4 separate regions of the Homo sapiens genome follow, and all the other regions are linked to region 1. The links are contacts of gene promoters, found by promoter capture Hi-C in blood cells and fetal thymus (Javierre and others, 2016). All regions are on one chromosome and are shown on one strand. Each heading gives the region's core, a stretch centred on a gene start or on the middle of the fragment in contact. The rest is flanking DNA. Distances are from core to core; before and after follow the strand shown.

Region 1 (4,249 bases), core at 984-3,483:
ACACTACAGGTAATGGAGATCATTAATGTGTACTGTCTTACTTGGTTCTTCCCAAAACCCTGTGATCTAGGTGCCAGAGATTCCAAAATTCCAAATGAAGAAAGGTTAAGTGACTTGCCAATCTTCATACTGTTAGCAAGTAGCAGAAATACTTCAAAGCTGAAATCTTATGATCCCCACATCCGGGTTCTTTCAATAACACAATGGTGCCATATACACTATTCCATAATAATAGTATTCTATACTGCCTTAGCAGAATGCCCATACTTAATGTTTGCTGATGATGATCCAAGTGCAAGGAAGAGCAAGAGCAGTTAGTGGGGCAGGTAAGCACAGGCTATGAGGTGCTTACCTAGCAAGAGGGAAGGATTTGTGTACACAAATGACCATCAATTCCCCATACTCTCACATGTCTTGAAGCAATTTACCATCCCAACCTCCAGAATATGTTTCTGTATCTTAAGGTTTGAGTGTGAGGCCAGGTGCATGGTGACTTATGCCTGTAATCCCAGCACTTTGGGGAGCCAAGGTGGGAGGATCTCTTGAGGCCCAGGAATTTGAGACCAGCCAGGGCAACACAGTAAGACCCTGACTCTACAGAAAAGTTAAAAGCAAAAAAATTAGTCAGGCATAGTGGTGCACATTTGCAGTCCCAGCTACTCAGGAAGCTGGGGTGGGAAGATCACCTAAGCTTAAGAGTTCAAGGCCGCAGTGAGCTAAGATCCATTCTGGGCAATGGAGCGTGACCCCTCTCACAAGAGAAGAGTGTGAGAACCATGTCTTTCAAAACCAATGACACTCAAAAAGACAAGTAAAAAGACCTGGATCTTAACCCCTCAACATAATCATGTTTTCATTTCTTAAGCACCTACCATGTGTTATGCACAGGGAAGTCTGAAAGCTGTTTTCAATTATATTCAAAAATTCTGCTTACTATATTAAAGACACCATGCTTAACAATTCTCATCAAACCAGCCCAGGGCCCTACAATGAGAGAACTGGAAGGGAATTTAGAGTTAAGTCCCTCATTTTAAGGCTAAATCTCTCACTTTGCAGATGAGAAAACAGATATAGAGAGAGCAAGCATATTTCAAGGTCACAAAGCTAATTAGAGGCAAAATCAACACCAGGACGTTGTTCTCCGTGCAACTGTTTCTTCCAAGATGCTGTGCAAAGAGCAAGAAAGGCCAACCCAGGGACAGTTTTCCTTTTTTTCTTTTCTTTTAAACCCTTGTTGCTAGGACTGCAGTTAAAAAAAATTTTTTTGGATGAGCAGAGGGAGGAAAGGGGCAAGCGTGAGCGGGCAGCAGTGCACTTGGTAGCAAAGAGGGAGGTGGAGGGAAGAGAGGAGAGGGCGGGGAAAAACAACAGGAAAAAAAGAAAAATCTTAAAGGCTTCTTGTCAGCCCAGTAGAACAGTCAATACTCAAATATTTTCAGTATTCGCCTATCATGATAAAACGCCTAAAAACTTCAGTAAGCAAAAGGACAAGAAGCACTTTGGAATCTGTAGCAGCACGCAAGGGTGATGGTGGTAGAGAGTTTGGGGGATACTGATTCTTTAATCTTTGGGCTTCGGTTTTCCGTGTCTGTGAAATGGGCACTGACAACAGTGCACCCAGCCCCCCAGGAGAAAAGAGATGGACACGATTAAATATAGGAAAAATCAAATTACCGAAAAAGGTGTGGCGACCAGGACCAGAACACTTGCGAGAAAAGAAGAAGTTCTAAAGAGGACCGGGTCCAGGTTTGAAGTGTGATGAGGGCAAGGGCAGGCTCCAAGCGTGCGTAGGGTTGTGATAGTGGTCACACAAGGGCTCCCCTCAAAAGGCCGTAGAAAATAAGGGAGACCGGGATGGGAAGGTTGGCTCGCCGCCTCCCAGGCCTCCCCAGGATTCAACTGTTCCCAAGAACCGGCTCCTCACCTTATCCAACAAGCCGCTACGGCCACTTCCTGTCCCGCAGTTGGAAGCACCACCAGCCCCACTACAGCCTCCGCTACCACCGCTTCTCCCGCCCTGTACAGCTGCCGCCGCCATCTTGTCCGCCTCTGCGTCTCCCTCCCCTCCGACTTGTCTGAAGCCGATTGGCTGGAGCTGACAGCGTGACGCGCCGCGCGGAGTCAATCGGGATCCGTAGTTTGGGTCTTGCTGGCGCGAGGTAGTCAGAGGACGTGGCCGCGGGGCTTGCTGGGACTTGAGGTTAGACGTCCCGGCCGTCGGTTGCCGCCTACACTGTCTGCCGTCGCGTCGCAGTTACTAAGGCGTGGGGAAGATAGCGGCAGGCACCGCAGTGGAGCGGCTCCGAGATCCCCGGGGGGCTCGCAGGCGCGCATCCCTCCTGACTGGGACGTCGCCTCCGCAGACCCCTCGGAGGCTGAAGCGACGCCGGAGGCAGGTGCGACTGAAACTTAGTTTTCGAATTCGAGTCTTTCTCCGGCCCAGGTGTGGAGTTTCCAAAGGAGTGGGCAGGAGCTTGTCCTTCATCCTTTTCTAGCCCGGTTGTGGCACTTACCGATTATTCTCTCAAGCAGCTGTCATTTTAGCTGTTTGTAATGTTTTCGTGTTAACGGAGAACTCGCGTTTACTGAGTGCCTACAGTCTGCCAGGCAGTATCCTATGTGCACTTCCAGCCATCCTCTCTCTCACTGAGTCCCACAACAGCCCTGTTAGATGAGGAGGAAACTAAAGAACCTACCCAAAGCCAGATAGCATGTATCTGAACTCGGTTTTCAAGCCGGCATTTAAAAAAAATCAAAACCAATATATATCCCTTCTGACACTCTGCTTTTACGGTTTTAGGATGTAATAGTATTCTAGATTTTAATTATTTTTTTCACAAATGTATATTGAGCACCAATATTGTACTAACGGATACAGGGGATCAAGATAGACCTGGTTGCTACTCTGGTGGACTACTACTCCATGACAGAGTTATCAAATAGCAGTATTGTATTATACCATGCTCTATTACGTTGTATTTTAATTAATTTTTTTCACAAATGTATATTGAGCACCAATATTGTACTAACGGATACAGGGGATCAAGATAGACCTGGTTGCTACTCTGGTGGAACTACTACTCCATGACAGAGTTATCAAATAGCAGTATTGTATTATACCATGCTCTATTACGTTGTATTGTTTTTTAATTCCTATATATCCCCCATAAGCGTCTAAAGAATTAAACAAATATTTTTGAGTTTCTTACTATGTAACAGGCACTATTCTAGTCACCAGGGATATATCCCTGAATAAAACAGACAAAAACTTGTCTTGGGGAAGCCAAAATTCATGTGAAAATAATTATCTCGGCCGGGCGTGGGGGCTCATGGTTGTAATCCCCGCCAAGGCAGGCGGATCACCTGAGGTCAGGAGTTAAAGACCAGCCTGGCCAACATGGTGAAACCCCGTCTCTACTAAAAATACAAAAATGAGCCGGGCGTGGTAGCGGGCACCTGTAATCCCAGCTACTTGGGAGGCTGAGGCAGGAGAATTGCTTGAACCGGGGAGGCGGAGGTTGCAGTGAGCCGAGATCAGAAAGAAAAGAAAATAATTATCACTAAATAACTAAATTATTACTAAAAAGAAAATAAATATCACTAAATAGCAATAACATCAGATGATATTTCATTACCTCTGTGAAGCAATCCGTGGACACTAGTCAGATCCCCTGTAGCTTGTTGTTGCAGTTTATCTTTTACAACTTCTCATTTTTCTTTTATTTAAAATAAAGTGAGATGATACAGCATTGCCCTAGTCACTTTTTATTTTATTTTTTATTTTTTGAGACAGAGTCTCACTCTGTCACCCAGGCTGGAGTGCAGTGGTGGGATCTTGGCTCACTGCAACCTCTGCCTCCTGGGTTCAAGCAGTTCTTGTGCCTCAGCCTCCCAAGCTGTAGTCTTTGTAGCTGGGACTACAGGCACATGCCACCACACCTGGCTAATTTTTATATTTTTAGTAGAGACAGGATTTCGCCGTGTTGGACAGCCTAGTCTTGAACTCATGACCTCAAGTGATCCGTCTGCTTCGGCCTCCCAAAGTGCTGGGATTACAGGCATGAACCACCACACCAGGCCAACTTCTCATCTTTCAAGATCCAGCTTTAATGTCACCTACCCTGTGAAACTATTTCTGATACTTGCTTCTTCTTTCTTCACCCACTGCATGAAGTGCTCCTGTGGCATTTTGTTCATGGGTTGGGTTAGTTCAATTAACAATCATTGAGACTCTTCCTTCAGTAGGCCA
Region 2 (4,378 bases), core at 1,591-4,090, 330 kb before region 1:
ACGGCCTCACCAAGTCCCCCTCCCTCACCAGATCCTCATTTGCTCCCTGATCCCCTGTAATCTTCATGGAGCCAGTCTCATCCATGGGCCTTCTCCCCTCCCTGGGCTTGTCCCCTTCACTGGCTTGCATCCCCCTGACTGAATCCACGCCTCCTCCCTGAACCCCAACGCCTCCCCAAGCCCCATTTCTTCTTGAGACCGCTGTCCCCTCTGCATAGTTTTACATAATAGATATCTGGCAGTTGTTTATTATATGGCAGGCACAGTCATAGGTGCTGAGAGTACAGCTGTGAACACCTTAGACACAAATTTCTGTCCTTAAAGAACTTACACAAATAGTGTCCTATGTCACCAAAATAGATGACAGAGGGACACTATTTGTGTATGGTGACATAGGGAGTCAGGAAGTGACAATGTTACCTATTTGGTGACATAGGGAAGCAGGAGGTGAAAAATGTAGTCCCTGTTTCAGCATCCTGCTGGGTACCAGGACCAAATGAAGTGCAGCCACAGGGCACTTCTGGGACAGAACAGGGGAGGATGGAATGGAGCCAGATGGTGACAGACCCCTATGCTGATCTCTGCAGTTTGGCTGGATTCTAAGGTGATGGAGAGCCATGCCAGTCTCTTGAGCAGGAGAATGATGTGAGGCTCGCAAGGAGAGGGGATGAAGGCAGGTGACCCTGGTCCTCTTTCACTCCGCCCATCTCCATTAGGAATTCTGTGCGTCTGGTCATCCGGAAGGTTCAGTATGCCCCAGAGAGGCCTGGCCCCCAGCCCACAGCCGAGACCACCAGGCAGTTCCTCATGTCGGACAAGCCCTTGCACCTAGAAGCCTCTCTGGATAAGGAGGTAGGAGGCTCGGACTTGGCAGGGGGTGGGGGCTGCTCCACCAGGGCCTGGGCCTCAGATCCCAGCTCTCTCCTGGCCTGCAAGGATGCCTCAGGTAGGAGCTTCTATCCCCAGCCCAAGGACCACAGGGGTCAGGGAATCTGAGACCTCTCATGGGGGATTTGGAGAAGCCTCTTGGGCCTAAAGGAGTGGCAAAGGGGGCATGAACTTGAGAGATGTGATGGACTTCCGAAGTGAGGAGCAGACCTTCCTGAAGGTCCTGGACATCTCCCCCACACCTCCACCAGCTGCCTGCCTCAGGCCGAGTGCTGAAGGTCAACCAGCATTGCAGAGGGGGCACGGTGGGGGGCCGTGACCTTCCTGCCAAACACTGAGCGTCAGGGCGACAAGCCCTGCAGAAGGAAGGGCCTCCCCTCAAACTCTGAATCAAACCCAGCTGACTGCTGTGAGCTTAGGCTGGCCCCTCCTCAAGGTGTGGGCACCCCCTCTCTCTCGGGGCATGGCTGAAGGGAAGTGCCTTGGGGCAAGATGCAAGTTGAGGTCTTTTTGTAGGGATTCAGAGCTGGCTCCCTCAGTGAGCTGGTGAGCCCATCCTCACCTTTCCCTGCTTCTTCCAGATCCTTCTGTGGACAGAATTTAGAGCTGGCAGGGACTTCAGACATCACCTAGTCCAACCCCTTCGTTGCACAGAGGGAGACCCTGAGGCTTAGATAACCTACCCACGGTCACACTGCTTTCATCATCGTCAATGTTATTGTTGTTATTGTTGTCACAATTACTGCTGGCCAAGCCAGGGCTGGAGCCCAGGACTATCACCTTCCAATTCCGTTATCTTTCAAGGGTCCCACCAGGGAACTGAAGGCTAATGTGCTTGGTGGCTTTCATGCCACCTTAGCAGCAGTGGGAAGTGGCTGATGAACTTGGGGCAAATGTCACAATGCCTTGGGGGATTCGGAGAAGCCTCTTGGGCCTAAAGGAGTGGCAGAGGGGGCATGAACCTGAGGGATGTGATGGACTTCAGATGGGAGCAGCAGACCCTTCTGAAGGTCTGCGCAAGGTCTGGGGAACCCCAGAAGATCGCGTGGGGGCTTTTCTCCCTCCCCTTTCCCTAGAACCTTGCTGTCCTCCCAGCCAACCCCGTCCCTTCTTATGCCCCCCAGATCTATTACCATGGAGAACCCATCAGCGTCAACGTCCACGTCACCAACAACACCAACAAGACGGTGAAGAAGATCAAGATCTCAGGTATCCCAGACAGAGGGTCAGCTTAGGGGACAGCGAGAGGCAATCTTCCCAAGGGCTGGGGGTGGCTGAAGTATCTCCCCTTGTTAACAGCCTTGTATAAAAAATAGCCACTGAAGCCCAGGGCCTGCTCTGAGCCACAGGGCAAAGCTTTTGAGTTGGGTAAGGCAGGCTGCTTATTGGCTAGGTAATGAGTTTGCTCTTTAAGCCACCTCTTCAGTTTCTTGGGTTCTGGACAAAGCTGTCCTTGAGGGGAAGGCTTTGGTTATGGAAGGAAATGGGTGTGTTTGGGGCTACCCTTTGGATGTAAGACAGGGGTGGTCTTATGCAGAAGTCCCCACTGGTGGCCTCTGGCCATTGCCTGGGGCTGAATATCCCCAACCCGGGGACGCCTGTGAGACTCCATGGGAGCTACATTCCCGACTCACTCCACCTTGATTCCTCTCCCTCCCTAGTGCGCCAGTATGCAGACATCTGCCTTTTCAACACAGCTCAGTACAAGTGCCCTGTTGCCATGGAAGAGGCTGAGTAAGTGGGCACAAGTCTGGCCTTGGGCGTATGGGATTGGGTGGGAAAAAGAGAAGCTCTAGGTGTCCTGTTACAGGTCCAGGTGGCTCTTCTCCACCTGGCAGAGGGCTGGGCCTCAGACTTCCTTGCCACTCAGAGTAGATGATCCCGAAGAGCCTTTTAGAAACCATCCACCTGATTTAGCTTCAAGAAAATGCATGCTACAGTCAAGGAAGAGACCCACTAAAACTAGAGTGACAAAACAATAGCTAATGAATGTAAGGGGATTGGGGTTGTGAGAAGAAATAATTACGTTGTACAAGAAACCTAGGTTGAAGGGAAATACTTTGTTCTTGGCTTCCTGGTAGCCAGGGCAAAGTGGGTAAGGCACTAGGTACACAGCTCTTGTCTGATAAAGGGGTAATCCAACTCATTGGGAAAAAGGGGTTGTGTGTGGGAGTGCAGAGAATAATTACACACAAAAAAATCATCTAGGTTTGAGGAGAACTGCTATGGTTGAGCATGGATCGAACTTTGTCCCAGGCTTGTTGGCAGCTAAGGCAAGTGGAGAGATCTGAAGTGAAACATCTTTACTTACCTAAAGGAAGTAAATGCTCCCATTCAAAGACATACACATTTTTTTTTCCTGGCCCTGCAAGTAATTTCTTGGGGCAATTATACCTGATATAATTTTACATGTATATGTGTATTTGTTTATGTATAATTCCAATCAGTATTTCTTGCAACTGAAAATATTTTTAAAATGTTACTACATGGCCTTTGAAATAGTTTTTAATGTCCTATAGGTGAACATGCTATGATTAGATCAAGCTTTCTCTGGTTACTGGATATTTTTCATATCCACTGTTGATTTTTTCAAAAAAATCAGAGCTATGAGGCATAGATTCCTGATGGTAAAGTGAAGTGATCTAGAACCAGAGTAACATATAATCCCTAAAGAGTAGAAAATCCCAACCACTGCAGATGGTGCCAGCGTCTGCATAACGAATACCAGCAGGGATGGCTGGGGAGGCATTTGCACTCACAGACTTGTTTACTTCTCAGGAAGCGCTGTGGGGCTGGGGTTGCTGCTGCCCCAGTATGTAGAGGAGGAAGTGGCTCAGAGAGATGTGACTTGCAAGTTAGCAAGCAGCAAAGCTGGGGCTGGAACACGGTCGTCCGACTCCAAGGCTTGTTCACTATCTGCTGCATGACAGCTCTCTCATTGGAAAGGATGGGGGATAGAGCAAAAGCAAGTAAAAATTGGACAATCAAAACACCCTATATATGATGGATGTGATCAAGCAAGTAAAGTTTTAATTGTTGAGCCTAGATGGTGGGTATATGGGTGCCCAAATAGCTTCATTTATGGTTTATGTGTAGCTATAATTTTTTCTTTTTAAAATGTGTTTAGAGACAGGGCTGGTGCTCACGCCTATAATCCCAGCACTTGGGGAGGCTGAGGCAGGCAGATCACTTGAGGTCAGGAGTTTGAGACCATCCTGGCCAACATGGCAAAACCTCATCTCTACTAAAAATACAAAAATTAGTCGGGCATGGTGGCGCGCCCCTGTGATCCCAGCTACTTGGGAGGCTGAGGTAGGAGAACTGCTTCAACCTGGGAGGTGGAGGTTCCAGTGAGCCAGGATCGCACTACTGTACTCTAGCCTGGGCGACAGAGCAAGACTCTGTCTCAAAAAAATAAAATAAAATAAAATAAAATAAAATAAAATAAATTTAAATTAAATTTGTTTAGAGACAGAGTTTCACTCTGTTG
Region 3 (4,329 bases), core at 420-2,919, 450 kb before region 1:
AAACCTGCCGGGCGCGGTGGCTCACGCCTGTAATCCCAGCACTTTGGGAGGCTGAGGCAGGCGGATCACGAGGTCAGGAGATCCAGACCGTCCTGGCTAACACGGTGAAACCCCAACTCTACTAAAAACACAAAAAATTAGCAAGGTATGGTGGCGGGCGCCTATAGTCCCAGCTACTCGGGAGGCTGACGCAGGAGAATGGCGTGAACCCGGGAGGCGGAGCTTGCAGTGAGCCGAGATCGCGCCACTGCACTCCAGCTTTGGGGACAGAGCAAGACTCCGTCTCAAAAAAATAAATAAATAAATAAACCAACTTAGCATTTATAACAATTATAGGTGATGGCCAGTCAAATGAGTTTTACCTGGTGGCTAAGATAATGATTTCTGTCCTGGTTGGTGTAACTCGCACCTCAACTCCAGAGTAGCCATCTTCAGCCAGCTCCCGAGTAAGAAACTCATTCAGTTCAGCTTTGAAGATGCCATCAGCGACAAACTAATCCAAACAAAGCAAAGTTCAAAATTAGGAGATCGGTGTAGGCTCACTTTCGCCTGAGCCAGTCTAGTCTTATTAGTCAATGCATCCCTCACCAAAACTAAATACCTCCAACCAATGGTTCCAAACCCTTGTTCCAACAGGAGTGCAGCAACCCTTCTCAGACAAATGCCTCTAAGTCATCTTTAGGAAATTACTTCAACCAGGGCTCTTTAAACTGTGCCACAGAACGCAGCACAGAGTAGGCCACCTGGGCAAAGAGAACATCCCCAAGTCAGACTCGTCATCATCTCTTCATCGAAGGGTTTAAAACAGTTCCACATGCAAAACAAGAAACTGCTCTAATGGCCTATTTACACTTCATTCAGCACAGCAAAGACACTGTACTTGTCACTGTTAAGGAATAGATAGTAGACTTAACATATAAGCTCTCTCACTTGTAGACACAACCTGCACCGTCTAAAGAATCCCAGCCATGTTATTTGGCTTTACGGTACCAACAGAGCTGGCAAATCCTAACTCTCGAGAAGTTGTGGATTTAATTTTGACATCGAAGTGTATATACGAAATGACAAACTGTCTATTTTTAAAGCTAATGATTTTTACACAGTTCTATCCCATGTAATGACAAGGCGTTAAATCCGAGGCAGCTTCCTCCCGGGGTCCCCAGACGGAGCAAGCAACCGTCAGCAACCCTTCAAGTTGAGGTCCTGGGGCCAGCGGACTGTACCCAGAAACGACCAGTTAAGGCAAGAATACACTGCTGCCTTCTCTTCCCAAAACCACGGGATAAGACATGAGGGAAATGACACACGCCCTCAAAATACCACGTTTACTAATTCCGTTGACCGACAAATGCTCACAAACGCCTTCTCCGGGACAGAAGGGGCGCCTGGTGCCCATCTCTCTGCGCTTCACTTGGAACCCGGCCACACAGCGCCCTCCTGGCTGGGGCCTCTCACTCAATCCACCGCCATCCGCGGCCCGCAGGAACGCCAGGAAGCCTAGGCCGCTTCCAGGGCAGGCCACGGAGCTGCAGGCCTCGCGGTGGCACCCCGAGAAGCCCTCGACCCGCGCGGCGCCGTCGTTCTCCGAACCCAGTCCCCAGAGGCTCACCTTCCTCTTCTTGGATATTTGCACTGCCATCTTGCCGCCGCGCTCCGCTGAAAGGAAAGGAAGTGGCTCGCGGGCGGAAGTGAGTATAAAGGGCGCGAGCGACGACGGAGGGCTGCGCTGCGTGCACGCCTGTGGGTGCTCATGGGAAATGTAGTTTTTACGTAAGTAAGGCGTCCAGGGAAAGAAGAATGTAGGCAGGAACAGGAAAGGGGCTTCATCCAGCAGGACTTCTAAACTTCAGGGGACCTTAGAGTTCAATTCTCATAGTTTCAAAACAAGCAATGTGAGGTGCAGAGGTGGAAATTACAGGTATAAGTTCACACAGCAAGAGAGATTAACCAGCGTGGAACTCTGGCCCCTACACTTTCAGGGTGGACACTGTAATGAAAATCTGCTGAAATCCCTCAGTGAAACTCATTTAAGACTCCTCTTTGGGAGGCCAAGGCGGGCGGATTACTTGAGGTCAGGAGTTCGAGATTAGCCTGGCGAACATGGTGAAACCCCGTCTCTACTAAAAATAGAAAAATTAGCTGGGAGTGGTGTCGGGCACCTGTAATCCCAGCTACTCGGGAGGCTGAGGTGGGAGGATTGCTTGGACCTGGGAGATGGAGGTTGCAGTGGGCCAAGATCCTACCACTGCACTCTAGCCTGGACCACAGAGTGAGACTCTGTCTCAAACAAACAAACAAACAAACAAACAAAACAACTCATGTCCCCCAGTCTGTACCCATTTCCTCCATTCCAAATGATAATAATAAAACCTGATACTTACTAAGTGTCCTAGGGACTGCGTTCTGTGTCCTTTATGTTGTTCTCATTTACCCCACCTTACTTTCATCAAGTCCATTACAATTTGTAACAGAAGTCCCAGAAGGTCCCATGGGCCCGCCCTTCCTTCCTTCCTTCCTTCCTTCCTCTCTCTTTCTCTCTCTCTTTCTCTCCTTTCTTTCTTTTCTCTCCGGTTGCCCAAGCTGGAGTGCAGTAGTACGATCTCAGCTCCCTGCAACCTCCACTTCCCAGGTTCAAGTGATTCTTCTGCCTTGGCCTCCTGAGTAGCTGGGATTACAGGTGCACACCACCACACCCAGCTAATTTTTGTATTTTTAGTAGAGATGAAGTTTCACTATGTTGGCCAGGCTGGTCTTGAACTCCTGACCTCAAGTGATCCACCTGCCTTAGCCTCCCAGAGTGCTGGGATTACAGGCATGAGCCACCGTGCCTGGCCTTCTTTTTCAATTAAAAAAAATTCTAGCCAGGTGCAGTGGCTCAGGCCTGTAATCTTAGCACTTTGGGAGGCCAAGGCAAGTGGATAGCTTGAGGCCAGAAGTTTGAGACCAGTCTGGGCAACAGAATGAGACACCCTCATCTCTATGAAAAGTGAAAAAAGAAAATTATCCAGGTGTGGTGGTGTGTGCCTGTAGTCCCAGCTACTCTGGAGGGAGATGTGAGAGGATTGCTTGAGTACAGGAGGTCTAGGCTGCAGTGAGCCGTGATTGTGCCACTGCACTCAGCCCGGGCAACAGAGTGAGACTCAGTCTAAAAAAAATAAAAAATTAAAAATGTCCCTTCATTTTTTAATGAAGCTTACAGAACAGTTGAAAAAACTGTACGTGTATGCATCACCAAGCTGAGGGGGAATTGAGAATGATGCTACAATTAATATTTTGCTGTTGCTTTATCGTGGATCTACTCATCCCTGTAGCCACCCACCAATACATCTTTTGAGGCATTTCAAAGTAAGTTGCAGACATTGGTAAACTTTACCCCTAAACACTTCAATAACAGTTTTATTTTATTTATTTATTTATTTTTGAGACGAAGTCTTACTCTGTTGCCTAAGCTGGAGTGCAGTGGTGCGATCGCCGCTCACCGTAACCTCCACCTCCCGGGTTCAAGCGATTCTCCTGCCTCAGCCTCCTGAGTAGCTGGGACTACAGGCAAGCACCGCCATGTCCAGCTAATTTTCATATTTTTAGTAGAGATAGGGTTTCACTATGTTGGCCAGGCTTGTCTTGAACTCCTAACCTTGTGATCCGCCCACCTCGGCCTCCAAAAGTGCTGGGATTACAGGCGTGAGCCACCGCACCCAGCCAACAGTTTTATTTTAAGTTTGAATAGTTTTCTTCATTTAAAAGTCAGGGTATTTCTCTCTAAAACTATTTTAGGTTTTTCTTAAGGATATAGAAATATCTAGCAAAATAGTGAACCCACATTTCTTCATGGGCAGTGCTCTCCTTTCCTGTTACACAAAAAGAGTCTTTCCAAGGTGCCACACTCCCTGGCAGCACCACTCAGTTATTTTCTGGTCCTAGAAGCCATTGGAGTGTTTAACTCCAGCTCTAAAACAACTCTGATGTAAAGTGACCTGTCCTATAATCACGGAATTAACAGAGTTCTGTGGTTGCTGAGCAGAGGGACCAGGGAAGATGACAAAAAGTGGATGGGCGCGGTGGCTCATGCCTGTAATCCCAGCACTTTGGGAGGCCGAGGCAGGTGGATCACCTGAGGTCGTGAGTTTGAGACCAGCCTGGCCAGCATAGTGAAACCCCATCTCTACTAAAAATACAAAAATTAGCCTAGTGTGGTGGTGCACGCCTGTAATCCCAGCTACTTGGGAGGCTGAGGCATGAGAGTCACTTGAACCCGAGAGGTGGAATTGCAGTAAGCCATGGTCAAAGCCACTGCCCTCCAGTCTGGGTGACAGAGCGAGACCCCGTCTC
Region 4 (4,348 bases), core at 1,261-3,760, 280 kb before region 1:
TGAGCCACCACACCCGGCCAGCCATAATTTTAAAGATGAGGTACGGTGGCTAACCCCTGTAATCCCAACATTTTGGGAGGCCAAGGCAAGAGGATCACTTTAGGCCAGGAGTTTGAGACCAGCCTGGGAAACTTCAGGAGACCTCGTCTCCACAAAAAAATTAAAAAAGGTAGCCGGGCATGGTGGCACACGCCTGCTGTCCCAGCTACTCAGGAGGTTGAGGTGGGAGGATCGTTTGAGCCCTAGGGGTTGAGGCTGCAGTAAGCCACGATTGGACCACTGCATTCCAGCCTGGGTGACAGAGCAAGACCCTGTCTCAAAAAAAAACGATGAGGAAACTGAGGCACAGAAAGGGTAAGTGACTTGCCTAAAGTCACAGTTGAGTTGGAGGAGGGCTGGGATGCCTCCCCTGGCTGTTTGGCTCCAGGCCTGCTCTTAATCATTATGATCTCCTGAGAGGAGCAGCGAGAAGCTTGCCTGCCTGTACCCCCCAGCAATTAAGGACCCCTTGGTATTGTGAAAAATGTCAGTGGAGTGTGTCTGATTAGGCTCATCAGTGCTCAGCATGGGACACATGTGTTTTTAAGATGGATCACCATTATCCCTGGCTGAAGAATTGCATGGGGTTTTCTAATTACAAATTATTCCTGCTGGATTTCATTATGCTTCCTCTTGTACTGGCTTTTTGTATTTTCAGTAATCTTATAAAACTTTGAAAATCATGATCAGTCAAGCTTATCTTCTAAGTCTTTTTTTCTTTTTTCTTTTCTTTTCTTTTTTTTTTTTTTTTTGAGACGGAGTCTCGCTCTGTCGCCCAGGCTGGAGTGCAGTGGCGGGATCTCGGCTCACTGCAAGCTCCGCCTCCCGGGTTCACGCCATTCTCCTGCCTCAGCCTCCCAAGTAGCTGGGACTACAGGCGCCCGCCACCACGCCCGGCTAATTTTTTGTATTTTTAGTAGAGACGGGGTTTCACCGTTTAGCCGGGATGGTCTCGATCTCCTGACCTCGTGATCCGCCCGCCTCGGCCTCCCAAAGTCTTCTAAGTCTTAAGAATATACAGCTAAGCTTTTATTAAGACAGTATTGTTACATTTTTTTAAAGTGAATGTTTGACTCAATATTACAAAACAGCAGTTACTTGAATTTTACCATTCCACGATTATAATGAGTCAGAAGAGAAGGTTGAACATTTATCTTCCTATAGAAAACCTTCATTCACTCAGAAAGCAAATTTCCTGTGGTAGAGAAAAGTTTTCACTTAAGTATTTTAAACTATTTTCAGCCAACAGCAAGTAGGCAAGAAGCCTGTGTTAATTTAATAATTCCTAACTGAGACTTTTCACTGATCACTGAAAATTCTTCCAATTTAACGGCATTAACAAAGACAGCAGAAAAGGAATGGTATATATCATTTTAAAAAGAAGAATATAGTTCAAATCCCAGCTAGGAAAAAAAAAATTAAAGAAGAATAAAACATAGTGATCACCAGGACCCAGCCTAGGTTTACTTAAAATAAGTCAGGCTAATCTCTCATCTCTCTTGCTTTGGGAGAACCAAAATTGCAATAGATCAGGGGTCTGTTGAAGTCTTGAGAATCCTGATTTCAAAAAGGCAATTGGAACATCTCCCAAGGTACTTTTTTTTTTTGAGACAGAGTCTCGCTGTGTCGCCGAGGCTTGAGTGCAATGGTGCGATCGCAAGTCACTGCAACCTCCGACTCCTGGGTTCAAGTGATTCTCCTGCCTCAGCCTCCCAAGTAGCTGGGACTACAGGCGCTTGCCACCACACCCAGCTAATTTTTGTATTTTTAGTAGATACAGGGTTTCACTATGATGGCCAGGCTGGTCTTGAACTCCTGACCTCAGGTGATCCTCCTGCCTCGGCCTCCCAAAGTGCTGGGATTACAGGCGTGAGCCACTGTGCCCAGCCTCCCAAGGTACTTTCATGGCAAGCTACAGTAGGGATCAAATCGTGATACACTAGGGGAATCCCTGGCTGCCTGGACAGCAGGTGGTGGAGAACGGGTAAGTGGATCAATGGCAGCTTAGAGGGAAGACTAGTGCCCTGCTCCGGGCTTGTTCCTCCCTGCTATCTTGCTCAGTCTGATGTATTTTTTCAGGGACTTGGATTAGGCCAAATAAAGCATGCTTATCAAATCTGGGTGGGAGAGTGATTATGTCAGATGGCAGAACTGGGTTTCAAAATGATCTGCATTAACTTGGCCCATAGGTGATGACCATAGGTTCACGTTCATGGAGGTAAATGTCAAGTCCTCATCGGGGCTCAGAGGTTCGGGTGAGGGAGAGAAGAAGGAATTATTGAGCACATACTTCGTGCTGTACCCTAACATAAGATATCTCAGTTAATAGTGAAAACCTTAGGAGGATGTTGTTCTCATTTTATTTTTTTTAATTATAGATTCAGGAGGTACACATGCAATTTGTTAAACAGATATTTTGTGTAATGGTGAGGTTTGGGCTTCTAGTGTATCCATTACCCAAATAGTGAACATTGTACCCAGTAGGTAGTTTTTCAGTCTTCACCCCTTCCACCCTGTTCTCATTTTATAGTGGAAGAAACTGAAAGCCAGAGAAGCTAAGCATTTGCTCAGGTCACATAGTAAGAGATGGAGCTCAGATCAAAGCCAAGGCCCATAAGACTCTTAGGTCCATTCTTCATAAAAAGTTCAGGATGAAGGAAACAGAGTTTAATAGCAGTTTATGTGGAAAGAAAACAAAACCACACATTTATGTGATATTAGTCCTGAATTCATATGCTAAGTCTTTCCTGAGCCTCTCTTCTGGGACCATCCTTGAGCTAGGCTTGGGGTGAAGAGATGAAAACTCACAGCCCCTGAGCAAGTTGAGCTCCTGGTCGGGGGAAGAGCAACCAACACTAGAACAGGTGGATTTGACAGTGCTGGGCATACAGAATACTGTGGGAGCCCAGAGAAAACCTGAACCCTCCAGCAAACTGTAGAAGAGGCAGTGCCTGGCCTGAGGCCCGAGGCTGGTTGGCTTGTCTGGGAGCCCAGGGAGGACATGGATTGTAGGTCCCAGCACGATGACCCAGGCTGGGCCTCACCTCTGCCCCTCAGTGGTGAGGAGCACTGAGGCCCCGGAAGGGGTAGGGCTGAGGGAAGGAGGTTTGCCAACTCTTCACCAGAAATGGAAGAAGAGAGCAGGAGGGGGTGGGGCATGGTGGCTCATGCCTGTAATCCCAGCACTTTGGGAAGCCAAGGTGGGTGGATCACTTGAGATCAGGAGTTCATGACCAGCCTGGCCAACACGGTGAAACCCCATCTCCACTAAAAATACAAAAATTAGCTGGGCATGAGTGCCTGTAATCCAGCTACTTGGGAGGCTGACGCACAAGAATCACTTGAATCCGGGAGGCAGAGATTGCAGTGAGCCGAGATCATGCCACTGCAGTCCAGCCTGGGCGACAGAACAAGACTCTGTCTCAAACAAACAAACACCAGACAGGGAGACAGAGAGAGCAGGAGGGGAGTGGGAGCTCTGGAAGGCATCTGAGAGCCAGGCAGGGACACGCCTCTGTGGACACTGGGAGGTTCTGGGACCTTAGCTCCAGACAGGCCGGTTACTTTGTAACCCCCCACTGTGTCCTGCAGCTGATCCTTCAGGAGAGAAGGGCTAGAGACTGGTGTTCAGGGTCAGTGAGCACATAAACAGATGTCCTGGGAGTCATTTGGGAGAGAAAAAGAGGACATCCCAGGTTTTTGTGCCCACAGGAAAGACAATGTGAGTAACACATACAGAAGTTTCTAAGGTGGGCAATGAGGCCAGGTGGGCTGGAGGCGGGAGGTCAGGAGACAAGGGAGGGGGTTGTTGAGATACTACTGGCGCTGTCAGCGAAGGCCAGGCCATGCTGGGCCTTGCAGGCCTTGAAGATTTTAACCTTTGTTTCAAAGGCAAAGAGAAGCCATTGAAAGCTTTTAAGTAGAAATGTGACATAATTTTATTTGTATTTTGTAAAGATCACTCTCACCACATGATTGAAAGAGCCAAGTATGAGAAGATAAATGAGGAGACGCTTGGAGAAGTACAGGTGAAAGGCAATGGTGCTTGGGCTGGGTGGTGGTGAGGAGGTGGGGAGTGGTGGGTGGGTTTGAGATACTCAGGGCCTGGTGACAGACTGGATACGGGGTGAAGGGGAGGGATGGGCCCAGGGTTTCTGGCCTGTGGATGGTAGAACTGACAGAGGGAAGACCAGGTGTGAGGTGGGCAGAGAGGGTGAACTTAGCCTTGGTCCTGATGAGTTAGGGATGCCAAGACATCCAAGTGGAGACATTGACTGGGCAGTGGGATATTGACGCCTAGAATTCAGGA

The links. Contacts are between HindIII fragments. The CHiCAGO score rates a contact against its expected background, and 5 or more counts as called.
Region 2: a contact is called between a fragment that was not itself captured here and the fragment with the promoter of XRRA1 in region 1, in 2 of 17 cell types (naive CD4 T cells and naive CD8 T cells). The highest score is 5.9, in naive CD4 T cells.
Region 3: a contact is called between the fragment with the promoter of RPS3 here and the fragment with the promoter of XRRA1 in region 1, in 6 of 17 cell types (naive CD4 T cells, fetal thymus, total CD8 T cells and 3 more). The highest score is 7.8, in naive CD4 T cells.
Region 4: a fragment that was not itself captured here is called in contact with the fragment with the promoter of XRRA1 in region 1 in 2 of 17 cell types (M1 macrophages and erythroblasts); the score reaches 5.8 in M1 macrophages.

Annotation. Positions count from the first base shown.
Region 1 is chr11:74,947,075-74,951,323 of GRCh38, reverse strand. It overlaps XRRA1 (X-ray radiation resistance associated 1), which reads left to right and starts at 2,233. Exons shown (of 19, transcript NM_001378157.1): 1 at 2,233-2,396. It overlaps SPCS2 (signal peptidase complex subunit 2), which reads right to left and starts at 2,058. Exons shown (of 5, transcript NM_014752.3): 1 at 1,925-2,058. The coding sequence starts at 2,038. RefSeq lists enhancers at 1,804-1,853, 1,156-2,010, 1,934-2,153, 2,284-2,343, 2,464-2,513 and 1 more. The HindIII fragment of the contact is 7,778 bases long and covers 694-4,249 here.
Region 2 is chr11:75,275,083-75,279,460 of GRCh38, reverse strand. ARRB1 (arrestin beta 1) reads left to right here. Exons shown (of 16, transcript NM_004041.5): 8 at 717-852; 9 at 2,013-2,097; 10 at 2,550-2,622. Among named protein-coding and RNA genes, the nearest start is that of TPBGL, 36 kb to the right of the region's middle. RefSeq lists an enhancer at 1,083-1,583. The HindIII fragment of the contact is 1,188 bases long and covers 2,247-3,434 here.
Region 3 is chr11:75,396,858-75,401,186 of GRCh38, reverse strand. It overlaps RPS3 (ribosomal protein S3), which reads right to left and starts at 1,669. Exons shown (of 7, transcript NM_001005.5): 1 at 1,610-1,669; 2 at 363-493. The coding sequence starts at 1,639. It overlaps SNORD15A (small nucleolar RNA, C/D box 15A), which reads right to left and starts at 796; the gene lies at 649-796. RefSeq lists enhancers at 243-1,106, 1,333-1,692. The HindIII fragment of the contact is 4,256 bases long and covers 1-3,194 here.
Region 4 is chr11:75,224,751-75,229,098 of GRCh38, reverse strand. TPBGL-AS1 (TPBGL antisense RNA 1) reads left to right here and starts at 3,455. Exons shown (of 6, transcript XR_950308.4): 1 at 3,455-3,760; 2 at 3,997-4,067. It also overlaps the pseudogene ZDHHC20P3. The HindIII fragment of the contact is 2,886 bases long and covers 1,068-3,953 here.